Regions from separate parts of the Homo sapiens genome. Here region 2 is linked to region 1. The links are contacts of gene promoters, found by promoter capture Hi-C in human tissues and cell types (Jung and others, 2019). All regions are on one chromosome and are shown on one strand. Each heading gives the region's core, a stretch centred on a gene start or on the middle of the fragment in contact. The rest is flanking DNA. Distances are from core to core; before and after follow the strand shown.

Region 1 (6,413 bases), core at 1,388-3,887:
TCCTCCGACGCTAAGCACTCGGCCGCTGGCTCCTCCAGGGGGCGCCGGAACCGCGCGCCCGGGCTACTCCGGGTTCCTTGCTCCGGGAGTCTGACATTTTCAGGGGAGATCACGGATAGGAAAGGGAAAAGGCAAAGAAAAGGAGTAGGGGCAGACAGAAAGAAGGATCACTATTCGTATCATATTCTAGGCAGTCACTGCCAAGCGCCAGCCTCTTTCCCCGCATTTCATGCCTCCGCAAACGCGCGCACACCACACACACACACACACAGGTGTATACACACTCCGATGGGGCATCCCGAGTTGTTGTGTTTTCCCCAGTTGAAGAGGCGCTGGCGGCCTCGGCAGCGGTCCCCGCCCGCGGCGCCAGGCCAAGCGGGTCTCACAGGGGTGGGCGCCAAACGCGCGCGCCTGACCGTCTTCCCAGAGCGCGCGGAGGACAAGGGGACCCGCCGGGGCTGTGCGCCAGCTACAGCAGGGGCCGCGCGGAGCCGACGCCTGGGGGCGCCGGCAGCGTCCTCGGGCCTCCCTTCGAAGGCGCGGAGAGTTCCGACTCCAGCCAGGTTCCAGACTGCCAGGGCTCGGGTGGGGCAGCAGGGAGCAGGGCAGGGAGGGGGCGGTTCCCAGCAATACCGCCCTCCTCCTCTACCCTCCTCTTCCTCCACCTCGGCTTTAGGGAGCCCTCAGTGTGGCGATCTCAGCCTCAGTTCTCCTCACCCGGCATGGCCGCGCATCACCTGGAGGGCTTGGCAAGGTCAACCTGCGGGCACAGTCGCAGCGCTTCCGATCTGCTAGGTCGGGTATGGGGCGCGAGTCGGTTTCCCCAGGAGGCCTAGGCGGCCTGTCTGGTCCCGCACTCTGGCGCCGGCTCCTCCCTCGCTGGCCAGGAGTGGCGGGCAGTTGCGGAGCCGGACGCTGGGGGAGTCAGGCTGCCGCGCGGCAAGTTATCAGCTGGCGGAGGTTCCTGCGGAAGCTGGCGTCCAGGAAGGCGTAGAGGAAGGGGTTGAGGCAGCTGTTGGCGTAGCTCAGGCTGGTGATGAAGTAGGAGATAGCGATGACCAGCGGCGTCTGCGGGAGGTCGGTGGTGAGCGCCACCACGGTGCTCAGGTGGTAGGGCGTCCAGCAGAGGAGGCACACCGCCAGGATTGCCACCACCAGGAAGGTCACCCGCTTCTTGGCGCGCTCCAGGGCCTTGGCGTGGCTGTCCAGCCGCATGGCATGCAGCCGGCACAGCAGGGTGGTATAGAGGACACAGATGGTGGACACGGGGATGGCGAAGCCCAGCACGAGCGTGTAGAGGCGGCTCGCGCGCCACCAGAAGGCCTCGGGCTGCGGAAAGACTAGCACGCACTGGCGCCGGCCCTGCTCGTCGTCTAGCCGGGCGAAGACTGCGAAGGGCAGCACGACGAGTGTGACGATCCCCCACACGGCCAGGCTCACCGCGCGCGCGGCGCTGTAGGTGCGGCCGGCCACCCGGCGCGACTCCGCAGTGGCCAACACCACCAGGTAGCGGTCGGCGCTCATGACGGTGAGGAAGTAGAGGCTGGAGAAGGTGTTGTACTGGTCGATAGCCACGATGAGCTTGCACATGAGCTCCCCGAAGGGCCACTGCCGCAGCAGGAAGTCGGCGATGTTGATGGGCAGCACCAGCGTGAAGAGCTCGTCGGCGATGGCCAGGTTGAGGATGAACAGGTTGGTGACGGTCTTCATGCGGGGCGCCCGCAGCAACACGTACAGCACGGCGGAGTTGCCCGCCAGACCCACGGCGCAGATCACCGCGTAGACAACTGGTACAGCCACCGCCAGCGGCGCCGGCAGCGGCGCCAGAGTCGACGCGTTGGAGCAGCTCAGCGCCGGGTCCGGGCCCGATGCGTTGGCGGGCCAGGGCTCCGAGAACGAGGCGTTGTCCATCTCAACGAGGGCAGAGGAGCCGGCGACCTGGCGTCCCCCAAGGACGCCCTACGGAGCTCAGCGGTCCTGAAGCCCGGTTCTGCACGGACCTGCTCGCGGACGCTCGTTTCAGCTCTCCAAGCCGTTCTCTGGTTTTTCCGGAGGAGGGGACCGTTCCCAGCCACCCCACGGCCCAATGTCGCCGCGGACTCACGGGGCTGGAAAGAGGAATTTAAAGCATAGGTTAGTTCGTCGACGTGTAACTTTAGAAATAGGCGCGGTCCCGAGGAGGGGTGGGGGTGGCGCCGCGGCGCCCCAAACCTCCTCCACGTGAGCGCTCTCTGCTACCTGTTGAAATCTCACTTCTACCAGTTGAATACATCAAACGAAATGCTAGAGAGAGAAGAATCCTCCATAGGAAAAATGCAAACCCTTCTCCCCTCTTTCAGGAAACTTCCGTAGACCCAGGTTACCCCACAGAATCCCGCAGTGGCAAGCTTCGGTCTCCCCAGGGTCTGTGCGCCCTCAGTAACAGCAAGCTCAACAGCAGTCTTTACCTTACCTGGCTGGCTGGGGAAGGGGTCTGCCTTTCCTGGAGCTGTCAGGAGAAAAGCCCGCCGGCTGCGGGGAGGCTGAGACGCCTGCCGGCTGGGTGTCCGCCTCCCCCTGTCTGCCTCCCCCGAGTTCGCCAGAGTCCGCAGCTCGCGTCCCCGCCGGTCCCTCCCGCGCGCCTGGAAGTGCAGGGATGGCGCAGCCGCGACTGCGTTCCACTGCCCTGACCGCCGCGCCCACCCCCACACCCCAAGTAAAATGGTCTTAGAACAGAGAACAGAAATTCCCCCAAATTTAAGGGATTCCTTTCTTCCATCCCAGTCGTGCAACCTCACTCCATCTGAAATAATAGAAAGCTCTCCTGTTAAGAATCGAATTTAAGGAAAACAAAGTTAGGGTGTAAGTGATCTATTTTTAAAGGAGAACAATGTAGTGGAGGCGCCTGTTCCATTTTTTATACACCGTAACACAAATAGGCTAATGTAATGTGAAATCTGAAAGGAGGAAAAAGTGAGTGCAATTTTATAATGCAAATCACCTGTTTTCTGCTACTCTGGTCTTCAAGGGGATAGAAGATTGTTAGTATGTTTTCTAAAACTACTTCTACTTCTACTTTTGTGTAAGTAAAGACTTGATTAGTAAAGACAAACGGCTTCCGCAAAGCCTTTTAGGGAACCATGACAATGCGTATTTCATAAAACGTTACAAGTTGTTCAACACACTCTCTACTTATCCACACACTTGCCCGATTCTCCTGCTAATGAGAGCTATCCTGCGATCGCAGCGGAGAGTAGCCAAGGAAGGACTAGCAGGGGCAGTCTTGAACTCCCCTGTCGCTATTTCCCTGGACTTTGGATTCTTTCTCTAGGAAGGGAAAATCATCTTAGGCTCCTCACCAGTTCCCCTAAGAATCGAATGAAATAAACTAAATATTGGTTATTTCCAATTTCTGCTTTTTTTTTTTCTCCACATTTCCTTTAGGAGAGAGAGCAAATTAAAACACGAGATTATATCCTCTAGTAAACTACCCTTCCACAAAAGCAGGCGAAGCCCAAATAAAGTGTATTTTTGGTCCTCTAGGATGCATCTTAGAGAAGGGGGCCTGAGATCCAGAGAGACCTAAAGTCGGCAGTAGAAGACTGTGGGGCCAGAAATACAGTAGCCCCCCCATACCTATGGGGGATAGGTTCCAAGAGCCCCAGTGGATGCCTGAAACCATGGATAGTACCCATTGCGGTCAATGGGAACATGTTTCTGTTCTTCCATCCAAAAATGATGCAACAGCAAAACTAGCATGCATTTCTTTTTTCTTCTTCACATTTTCGTGGATAGATTTGTTTTTAGTAGATCTTGGCAACCTCTGCATATGATTTTTTTTCTTTCCTTATTAAGTCCAGAATTTTTACCTTTTAACTTAAAGGAGGCATTTGCAGCTTCTCTTTGGCATATCTGAATTGCCAGCATCACTTCTCTTGCACTTTGGAGCCAGAGAGAAATAAGGGCAAAAAGTCAGTAAAATCAAGGCAACTTGAAGACACCACACTGGTCATTGCCACAGTCATCTAATAACCCAGATTGTGAAGTGACTAACAGGTGGATATTGTAGACAGCAGGGAAACGCTGGGCAAAGGGAGGACTCACTTTCTGTGGGAAGGAGTAAGATGGCTGGATCTCATCACGCCAATCAGAAGTCAACACAATTGAAAACCTAGGAACTGTTTATTCCTGGAATTTTCTGTTTAATATTTTTAGACCACAGTTGACCACGAGTAACTGAAACTAGGGACTCCAAAACCACTGACAGGGGGATCCACTGTCCAAAAGCTCCCTGGAATTTACCTACTCAATTATCTTTTTACCAGGATCTATACAAATCGGCTCCCCTGCAGTTTCACACTTTCTGTGAAACAAAATAACAGATGATTCTTAAGCTATGTCCGTAAGAAACACTATATGATAAAACACCATATAATGTTAAAGAAAAAATATATATAATAGAAAATCTCCAAACGGTTGAAGATGATCAACTATATACACATACGTGTATACATACACATATATACACACACGTGTATATACACACACATATATACACACGCATATATACACGCACATATACACACGTGTATATACAGACACATATGCACGTGTATATACACACACATACACAGTGTATATACACACATATATGCACACTTGTGTGTATATACACACACATATGCACACGTGTATATACACATACACACGTGTGTATATACACACATATATACACACATGTGTGTATGTGTGTATATATGCACATGTATATAGTTTATACACGTGTGTATACACGTGTGAATGTTTGTATACACATATGCACATGTGTATATACGTGTATATACACGTATGTATACACGTGTGTCCATATATGTTTATGTGTATATATACACATGTATGTATATAGTTGATCATCTTCAACCGTTTGGAGATTTTCTAGCCTTTTTATTGTTGACTTCCAGTTGAATTACACTGTAAACTGAGAACATACTCAATATGACTTCAATTCATAGATATTTTTTGAAACTTACTCCCCAGTATATAGTTATTTTCTAATTATTTCATGTGTACTTGAAAAATTGTTTTGCACTTGTTGGGTGCAAAACTCTACATATGTCAACTAGTCAAACTTACTATGTTGTTCAAATTTCTCTATTGATTTTTTTTCTTTTTTTTTGAGACTGGGTCTTGCTTTGTCACCCAGGCTGAAGTACAGTGGTGCAATTGCAGCTCACTGCAGCCTCAACCTCCTGGGCACAAGTAATCATCCCCTCTCAGCACCCCTAGTAGCTGGGATTACAGGTGCGCATCACCACACCAGGCTAATTTTTTGTATTTTTCGTAGAGGCAGGATCTCACCATGTTGCCCAGGCTGGTCTTGAGTTCCTGAGCTCAAGCGAACCACCAACCTCAGCCTCCTAAAGTGCTGGGATTACATGTGTGAGCCACCGTGCCTGGCTTCTGCTGATATTTTTATCTAACTGTCTCATTAGTTACTGAAAGGACGGGGGGGGGGAATTTCAATTAATGAGTGTGAATTTCTCTACTTACGCTTTCATTATATGCTGTCAACTTGTACTACGTAATTTTACTTTTTTTTTTTTTTGAGATAGAGTCTCACTCACTCTGTTGCCCAGGCTGAAGTGTGGTGGTGGGAGCCTGTGCCTCCCAGGTTCAAGTGATTCTCCTGCCTCAGCCTCCCGAGTAGCTGGGACTACAGGGGCACACCACCACGCCCAGCTAATTTTCTTTTTTTTTGTATTTTTTGTGGAGATGGAGTTTCACCATGTTGGCCAGACTGGTCTCGAACTTCTGACCTCAAGCGATCCGCCTGCCTTGGCCTCCCAAAGTGCTGGGATTACAGGCACAAGCCACCATGACTGGCCAATTTTCACTACATAATTTGATGCTGTTTTATTAAGGGTACACGAGTTTAAGATCGCTATATTTTCCTGTGGAATTTACCCTTTCATCTTGATAGCCTAATTATAATGATTTTATCATCATGTTATTTGATTTTATCAAATGATCATACATTTAACATTATAATATAGAATATATCACATATAATTATAATATTATCTGTATATATTACCTTTTATCATTATAACATCTTTAACTAGGTTTCTATTTCTTTTTTCTCTTTTTTTGTTTTTTTTTTTTTTGAGACAGAGTCTCGCTCTGTCGCCCAAGCTGGAGTGCAATGGAACGATCTTGGCTCACTGCAAGCCCCACCTCCCGGGTTCACGCCATTCTCCTACCTCAGCCTCCTGAGTAGCTGGGACTACAGGCGCCTGCCACCACGCCTGGCTAATTTTTTCTATTTTTTATTAGAGATGGGGTTTCACCATGTTAGCCAGGATGGTCTCGATCTCCTGACCTCGTGATCCGCCCTCCTCGGCCTCCCAAAGTGCTGGGATTACCGGCATGAGCCA
Region 2 (6,413 bases), core at 1,235-3,734, 310 kb after region 1:
GCATATTAATGTTTGACAGTCCTTGGTAAATGTATCTAAAATTGCTCTGGTTCTCATTTAAGCTAGTAGATAATGAAAACATTTGGAAAGAATTCATAGAAAATAATATCCCCATCAACTTTTCATACCCGAACCAAACATTTTTGTCTGATGAAAACTTTGACAATCACTGTTTAGATTTATTTGAGTAGGTACAAGGATAAACCACAGGTCTCTTTTTTCCACCTGCAGACATTGCAATTGAAAGAAGAAGAAAATAAACGGTTAAATCAAAGACTGGTAAGATTTTTCTTCTTGGTAAATTGGTCTTAACATTTTTAAATGATTTGCATTATATTTCATTATGAAGATATTCCATCAGAGGATGTATGCTTTGATTGACTTATCTATAGTAGGTTTGTTGGTCCGTGTTGGTCATTGAATCCTATTGATTTTCAGAATGCTGAAGTCAGGCCAGAGTTATCTCCTGACTGTAGAGTCAGACTTTTTCCTTAGCGTGAAATTAAATAATGTCTTGGCGAATTTACGGCTGTAGGTCTGACCAGTTGAAGCACCTAAGATTCTTAAAATCATCAAAATCAGTTTTGAGTTATGTTTCATAAGTCTTTTGAAGATTAATATATTTACTCACAAGTGTGCGTAATTTTAATACATTGTATCTTTTCATGATTTTTTTTTTTTAAGACAGTCTTGCTCTGTAGCTTAGGCTGGAGTGGTGTGATCTCGACTCACTGCAACCTCCACCTCCCGGGTTCAAGTGATTCTTGTGCATTAGCCTCCCGAGTAGCTGGGATTACAAGTGTGCTGCGCCGTCACACCCGGCTAATTTTTACATAATTAATAGAGACAGGATTTCTCCATTTTGGACAGGCTGGTCTCAAACCCCTGGCCTCAGGTGATCTGCGCACCTTGGACTCCCAAAGTGCTGGGAGTTACAGGTGTGAAACATTGCACCCAGCCCTTTTCATGAATCTTATTTTTAAGTGAAAGTGCCTGAAAGGCAAGAGATCCCATGTGGTACTGTAAATTGCCCTGGTTTTTATTGATTTGTTTTGTTTCGTTTTTAATTAAAAAAAAAAAATCGAGACAAGGTCTCTCTCTGTTGCCCAGGCTGAAGTGTGGTGTTGCGATCTTGGCTCACTGCAGCTTCAACCTCTTTGGCTCAAGCAATCCTCCTGTCTCAGCTCAGCAAGTAGCTGGGAGTACAGGCGAGTGCCGCTGCACCCAGCTAATTTTTGTTTTGTTTTGGTTTTAGGTTTTGTTTTTTTGTTTTCGTAGAGATGGGGTTTCACCATCTTGTCCAGGCTGGTCTCGAACTGCTGAGCTTAAGCGATCCGCCTGCCTCAGCCTCCCCAAGTGCTGGGATTCCAGGCAAATTGGAATTGCCTGGAATTTTGCTGCACCCAACCAAACTGCCTTGGCTTTAACCTGTGAATTTAACCAATTATTTGAACAGCCCATTTTACAGCCAATTATATGTTTTAATAAAGCAATAACTTTATTTTTTCAAGTTCTATTAATTACAGTTTACAAGGTAGTAGGAACAGTTTAAGGCTTCTGTTCAGTGCTTTTGAAAAGTTTTGAAATACTTTTTAGAATTTAGTTTGTTTAAAAAATAAAAATATCTTGTAGTGAGACATCTCCTTTCTTCTTTATACCTTAACTTGAACAGCAAAAATCACATATTTTGTAGTGATTATACTGTGAATCATTAATTTTATCACAAAGACTTAGAAGAATGGTCTATCTCAGACATGACTCAATACGTGTTTTATGTAGTATGCTTTATTTATCCTCAATAGAATATAAGCTCTGTTTGGCAACGATTTTAATCAGTTTTGGTCACCGCTACATTCTTAGCATCTAGAATGGTAACTGGTATACTATAGATGCTTGGCATATGTTTGTAGATTAATTGTGAACCCAAAAGTATCTGAGACAGGTCTCAATCAATTTAGAAAGTTTATTTTGCCAAGGTTAAGGACGAGCTCATGACACAGCCTCGGGAGGTCCTGACGTGTGCCCAAGGTGGTCAGGACACAGCTTGGTTTTATACATTTTAGGGAAACATGAGATATCAACCAGTATGTGTAAGATGTTCTGTCTGGAAAGGTGGGACAACTCAAAGCTGGGAAGAGGGCTTCCAGGTCATAGGTAGATAAGAGACAAATGGTTGCATTATTTTGAAACTGTGATTAGCCTTTCACTGAATACACAATTTACATGTCAGAGGATGGTAGAGGAATTGTCACTTATGCTTCAGTCTGACTTAGTGAAGCAGTGGGGCCGAGAAAGCAATCATATACGCATTTGTCTCACATGAGCAGAGGAACAGAGGGATGACTTTAAGTTCTGTCTGTTTTTTGTCCACAAGGAATTTTCTTGTGGGCAAATTGTGAGGTCTTTGTAGCTATCTTATTTTAGGAATAAAATGGGAGGCAGGTTTGCTTGATGTAGTTCCCAGCTTGACCTCCCTTTTCCTTAGTGATTTTTGGTTCCCAAGATTTATTTTCTTTTCACAGAATAAATTGTCTTTCAGACCCAGAGAGCATCACAGTCACATTCAGAAAGGTGTCCAAATGTAAATCACACTTTCACATAGAATTACAGCTATATTAACAAATTTTTTCTTCCATTGTCTTCATTTGTAATATATAAAAAACTTAAGCTTTTAAAAAACTAAAGTTGAATTATGGTCTTAAAAATGATGGTCAATCTTATCTTCACTGGCAGGATATAGACCATTTGTCTGGATAATTTTAGTAAGTTGCTATACAGTTTTAGGCCTTCCTAGTTATTATTTGTTGTGTTATTTCTCTTTTTAAAACCCTGCATTGTACCAGATAGCGTTCAGAGGGAAGTGGAGGAAATTCAGAGCATCAAAATTTGACTTAATAAACAAAATATCCTTATCTGTCCTTGGTTTGTGCAACCATGCATTGGGCTCACTTTGCTTGGGAAAAATAGGTGTTTTTATCACCCTTTCAAGCTTCAAAGACCTTGGTTTCCATGCTTCAGGTCTTATGAGATGGTGTGGATAAATGGATTGAAGCTTGTTTGAAGAGGAGAACAGTCCCGGCTAAGCCATGGCTATAGCTTATCAGCTAGCAAGTACCATTTGATTGTGCTCATCATCAGTAGAGGAAGTGGGTGGCTATCACAAAATTCATTGTTTCGTGATTGTTCACAAATTTTTTTAAACTGAGACATCTCAGAAGTTTCATTGAAGATGAGAAAAGAGGTTTGTTCTCAGCCTTCAGAACTTTATGCTCCCACCCCAGTTTAACCAGAGTAGTAGTGTTTGCTAGGCAAGGTGTCAGAGCGCTGGCATTGCAAAGTGGTTGACTCTGGTTTGGTAAGAAGAATTTACTGACAACAGTATAGGTTTGAAAAAGGAAAGTTTTATTAGAGCGAATGATGCTGAAGAGTGTAGCGGGGTGCCTCAGCAAGAGAGGACTGAGCACGCTGTGGTGAATTTTCCCGACGAGCATATATGGACCTTAAGGCAGGATCTTAAAGGTAGTTTGGACCAATGTTGGCCGTGTAGGTCATGATAAATGATTACATTTGTAGACATTTTTGTGTCTTGATGTCAGCAAGGGTTGCTCAGTGAGTTTTGGCATGCATACATTCCAGAGATGTATAGAAATTCTAGTTACTTACAACATTTTTGAAAGAGACCTGTAACCACATGCTAGGAAAGTTTAATTACTTCTAAATTCCTCAGCGTTCTGCCTCCAGATGGCCTGTTTGATGGTCACCAGGTGTCTTTGCTTGCTGCATTATACTTCTAACCTCTGCCTTCCAGGCTCAAGTGATCTTCCCACCTCAGACTTCCGAGTAGCTGGGACCATAGGCGCTTGCCATTATGCCCAGCTAATTTTTTGTATTTTTGGTAGAGATGGGGTTTCACCATTTTGCCCAGGCTGGAGATTTTAAATCTTTTTGGTTTTTTTGTTGTTGTTCGTTGGGACAACTAAGTTCCTCTTCAAAGACTCAACTTCCTGGTCATAAGTTGTAAGATTGTAAATCAACCCCATCCCCTTCTCCCCTCTGCCTTCTCCTTTTCTCACAAATCGCACATTTACCCTATTTGGAAAAAGTTTAGGTCTAAGCTAACCGGGATCAGCTTAGATTGTGTGGTCCAACCCCAGCCAATAGGGGAAGGACACAGAAACAGAAACTGCATTAGAGATAAAACCCCTTCCTTCCTTTGTTTGGTGTTCTCTTGCAATTGTGACGGCTGTGAGCAGCAGCCTTCTGCAGAAGTAAAGTTGCCTTGCCAAGAAATTTTCTAAGTGTGGGTTTCTTTTGGCTACACTGAGCACTTGTTTCCAACATTGTTGTTTTTCCAAAATGAAAGATTTTGAATCTAATGCATTAGAATTTTCAAAGTCTTCTTGAAAAATCTGTCCTTTTCTCTGTGTTTTATTTTTAAGATTAAATATGTAATATAAATAAAATGTGATTCAAAAATCAGTTTTTAATCTAACCAAATTTACTAATGGTTGAAATAAAGGAATTATTAATGAACATAAGAACTATATTAGTTTGGGCTCTTTAAAGCTGGACACAGGCTTGAATGTGTATAACAGTGGGTGAAATTTTTGCAGTAAGAATGCATGTGGTACTCAAATTGTGTAAGTTCATAAACTTTTTTTTTTTTTTTAGATGTCTCAGAGCATGTCTTCAGTATCTTCAAGGCATTCTGAAAAGATAGCTATTAGAGAGTAAGTATTTTAGTTTTGTGAGTATTTTTCTGTGAAAAACATTCACTGAATTGTTAATGAAAATGTATTTCAGTGACAGTAATTCAGGTCCAGGTTCATTGAGCTGAGTGTTTTGCACTCAGTAGTAGTAAAAGTTTTTTACTGGAAAGCAGGATTTTTCTAAATTGTTATTCTGGAAACATTTAGATTGCCAAAACTTTCCAGTTATAGCATTATGATTAACATAAATATCCTTGAAGCCTTTTCCTCCAGTTAACTTTTCAGCATGTGCTACCTCTTTTAAATCCCATTTATCTCCTTAGTCTTGTTAATCTATATTGGAGAGTTTTGATTTGTTTTTAAGTTGCAGTGTTTCCTCATTTTTAGTTTTTAGATTTCATTTTATTAATATTCTACAAATTCATAATAAACAAATTGTCAATGAAAAAGTCAAACTCTGTAAAATATTTGAAGATATTTATTCTGAGCCAAATATGAGTGACCATGGCCTGTGACACAGCCCTCAGGAGCCCCTGAGAACATGTGCCCAAGGTGATTGGATGACGGTGAGGGGGAAACTTGGTTTCATACATTTTAGGGAGACATGAGACATTGAAGATACAAGTTGGTTTGGTCCAGAAAGGTGGGACAAATGAAAGCTGGGAGGGTAGCTTCCAAAGTATAGGTAGATTTTTAAAGTTTTCTGATTGGCAGTTGGTTGAAAGAGCTGTCAGTAGAAAGGAATGTCTAGGTTAAGATAAGAGGTTGTGGAGACCAAAGTTTTGTCATGCAGATGAAGCCTCCAGGTAGCAGGCTTGACAGATAATAGTTTGTAAATGTTTCTTATCAGGCTTAACCTCTGTGTTAGTGTTAAATTCTTGTTGACTTTTCCTGAATTCTAAGAGGGAAGAGGACATGATGAGGCAAGTCCAACCCCTGCCTTTTGTCATGGCCTGAACCGGTCTTTCAGGTTAAATTTATAGGGCACTGGCCTAGAGGAGGAAGTTCATTCAGATGGTTGGTTGGGGGGGCTTCAAATTTTATTTTTGGTTTACAGAATTTATCAATTGAATGGTTTAATAATTTTCCTGCACTGTATTACCCCATAGTTAAAATTTTTCTTTAGCTTTGGTTATTTAAATGGAGCTCTGGAATAATAAAAGCATTGTTAGCAACTTATGAATAGTGTTCAGCCTTTTATCCTGACAGGAAGGTTGTGAAAGTTAAGACCCTTTATTTAACTTCTTGTATTTTATTTCTAAATTTCTAAATTTGTTGACCACATTTTTGGTTGTCAGATATCTGTGATTCTGACTTTTCATGTCTCATTAAAATTTCAGCTTCTCTCAGTGATTTGAAAGGGCTTAGTGGTATCTGTCTTTACCAGCTGTATGTCATGTCAATGGGCCGTTCATTAATGTTCTTTCAGAGACTAGAGAGAGAGGAGCTCCAAAAATACTGCCTCATAGAGGCCCCATTTCCCATCTCCCCATTTTAAGTTATTAGCTTTTGGCATTTAGCCAAAACAGTGCCTGCCACATGGTTGTTAGGTAATCACTAAGTATTTGTAGGGTAACTTAATAAATAAAAGACATTAAAAGTTTCCCCAGCTGATTTTGATGATTTATTAGGTATAGGATCTACCAATTTAAATGATCTTGACAACTGAAAAATATGAGATTGATTTTCAAGGCCTTTTGATGT

What was found. Contacts are between HindIII fragments. The study calls those that stand out against the background at their distance.
Region 2: a fragment that was not itself captured here is called in contact with the fragment with the promoter of NPBWR1 in region 1 in 1 of the 25 tissues and cell types used here (heart left ventricle).

The regions. Positions count from the first base shown.
Region 1 is chr8:52,935,406-52,941,818 of GRCh38, reverse strand. It overlaps NPBWR1 (neuropeptides B and W receptor 1), which reads right to left and starts at 2,637. Exons shown (of 2, transcript NM_005285.5): 1 at 2,453-2,637; 2 at 1-2,108. The coding sequence starts at 1,911. The coding sequence ends at 925. RefSeq lists enhancers at 1,199-1,830, 1,831-2,462. The HindIII fragment of the contact is 16,506 bases long and covers 1-6,413 here.
Region 2 is chr8:52,628,787-52,635,199 of GRCh38, reverse strand. It overlaps RB1CC1 (RB1 inducible coiled-coil 1), which reads left to right. Exons shown (of 24, transcript NM_014781.5): 20 at 232-279; 21 at 4,672-4,730. Among named protein-coding and RNA genes, the nearest start is that of ALKAL1, 67 kb to the right of the region's middle. RefSeq lists an enhancer at 5,205-5,919. The HindIII fragment of the contact is 5,717 bases long and covers 1-5,342 here.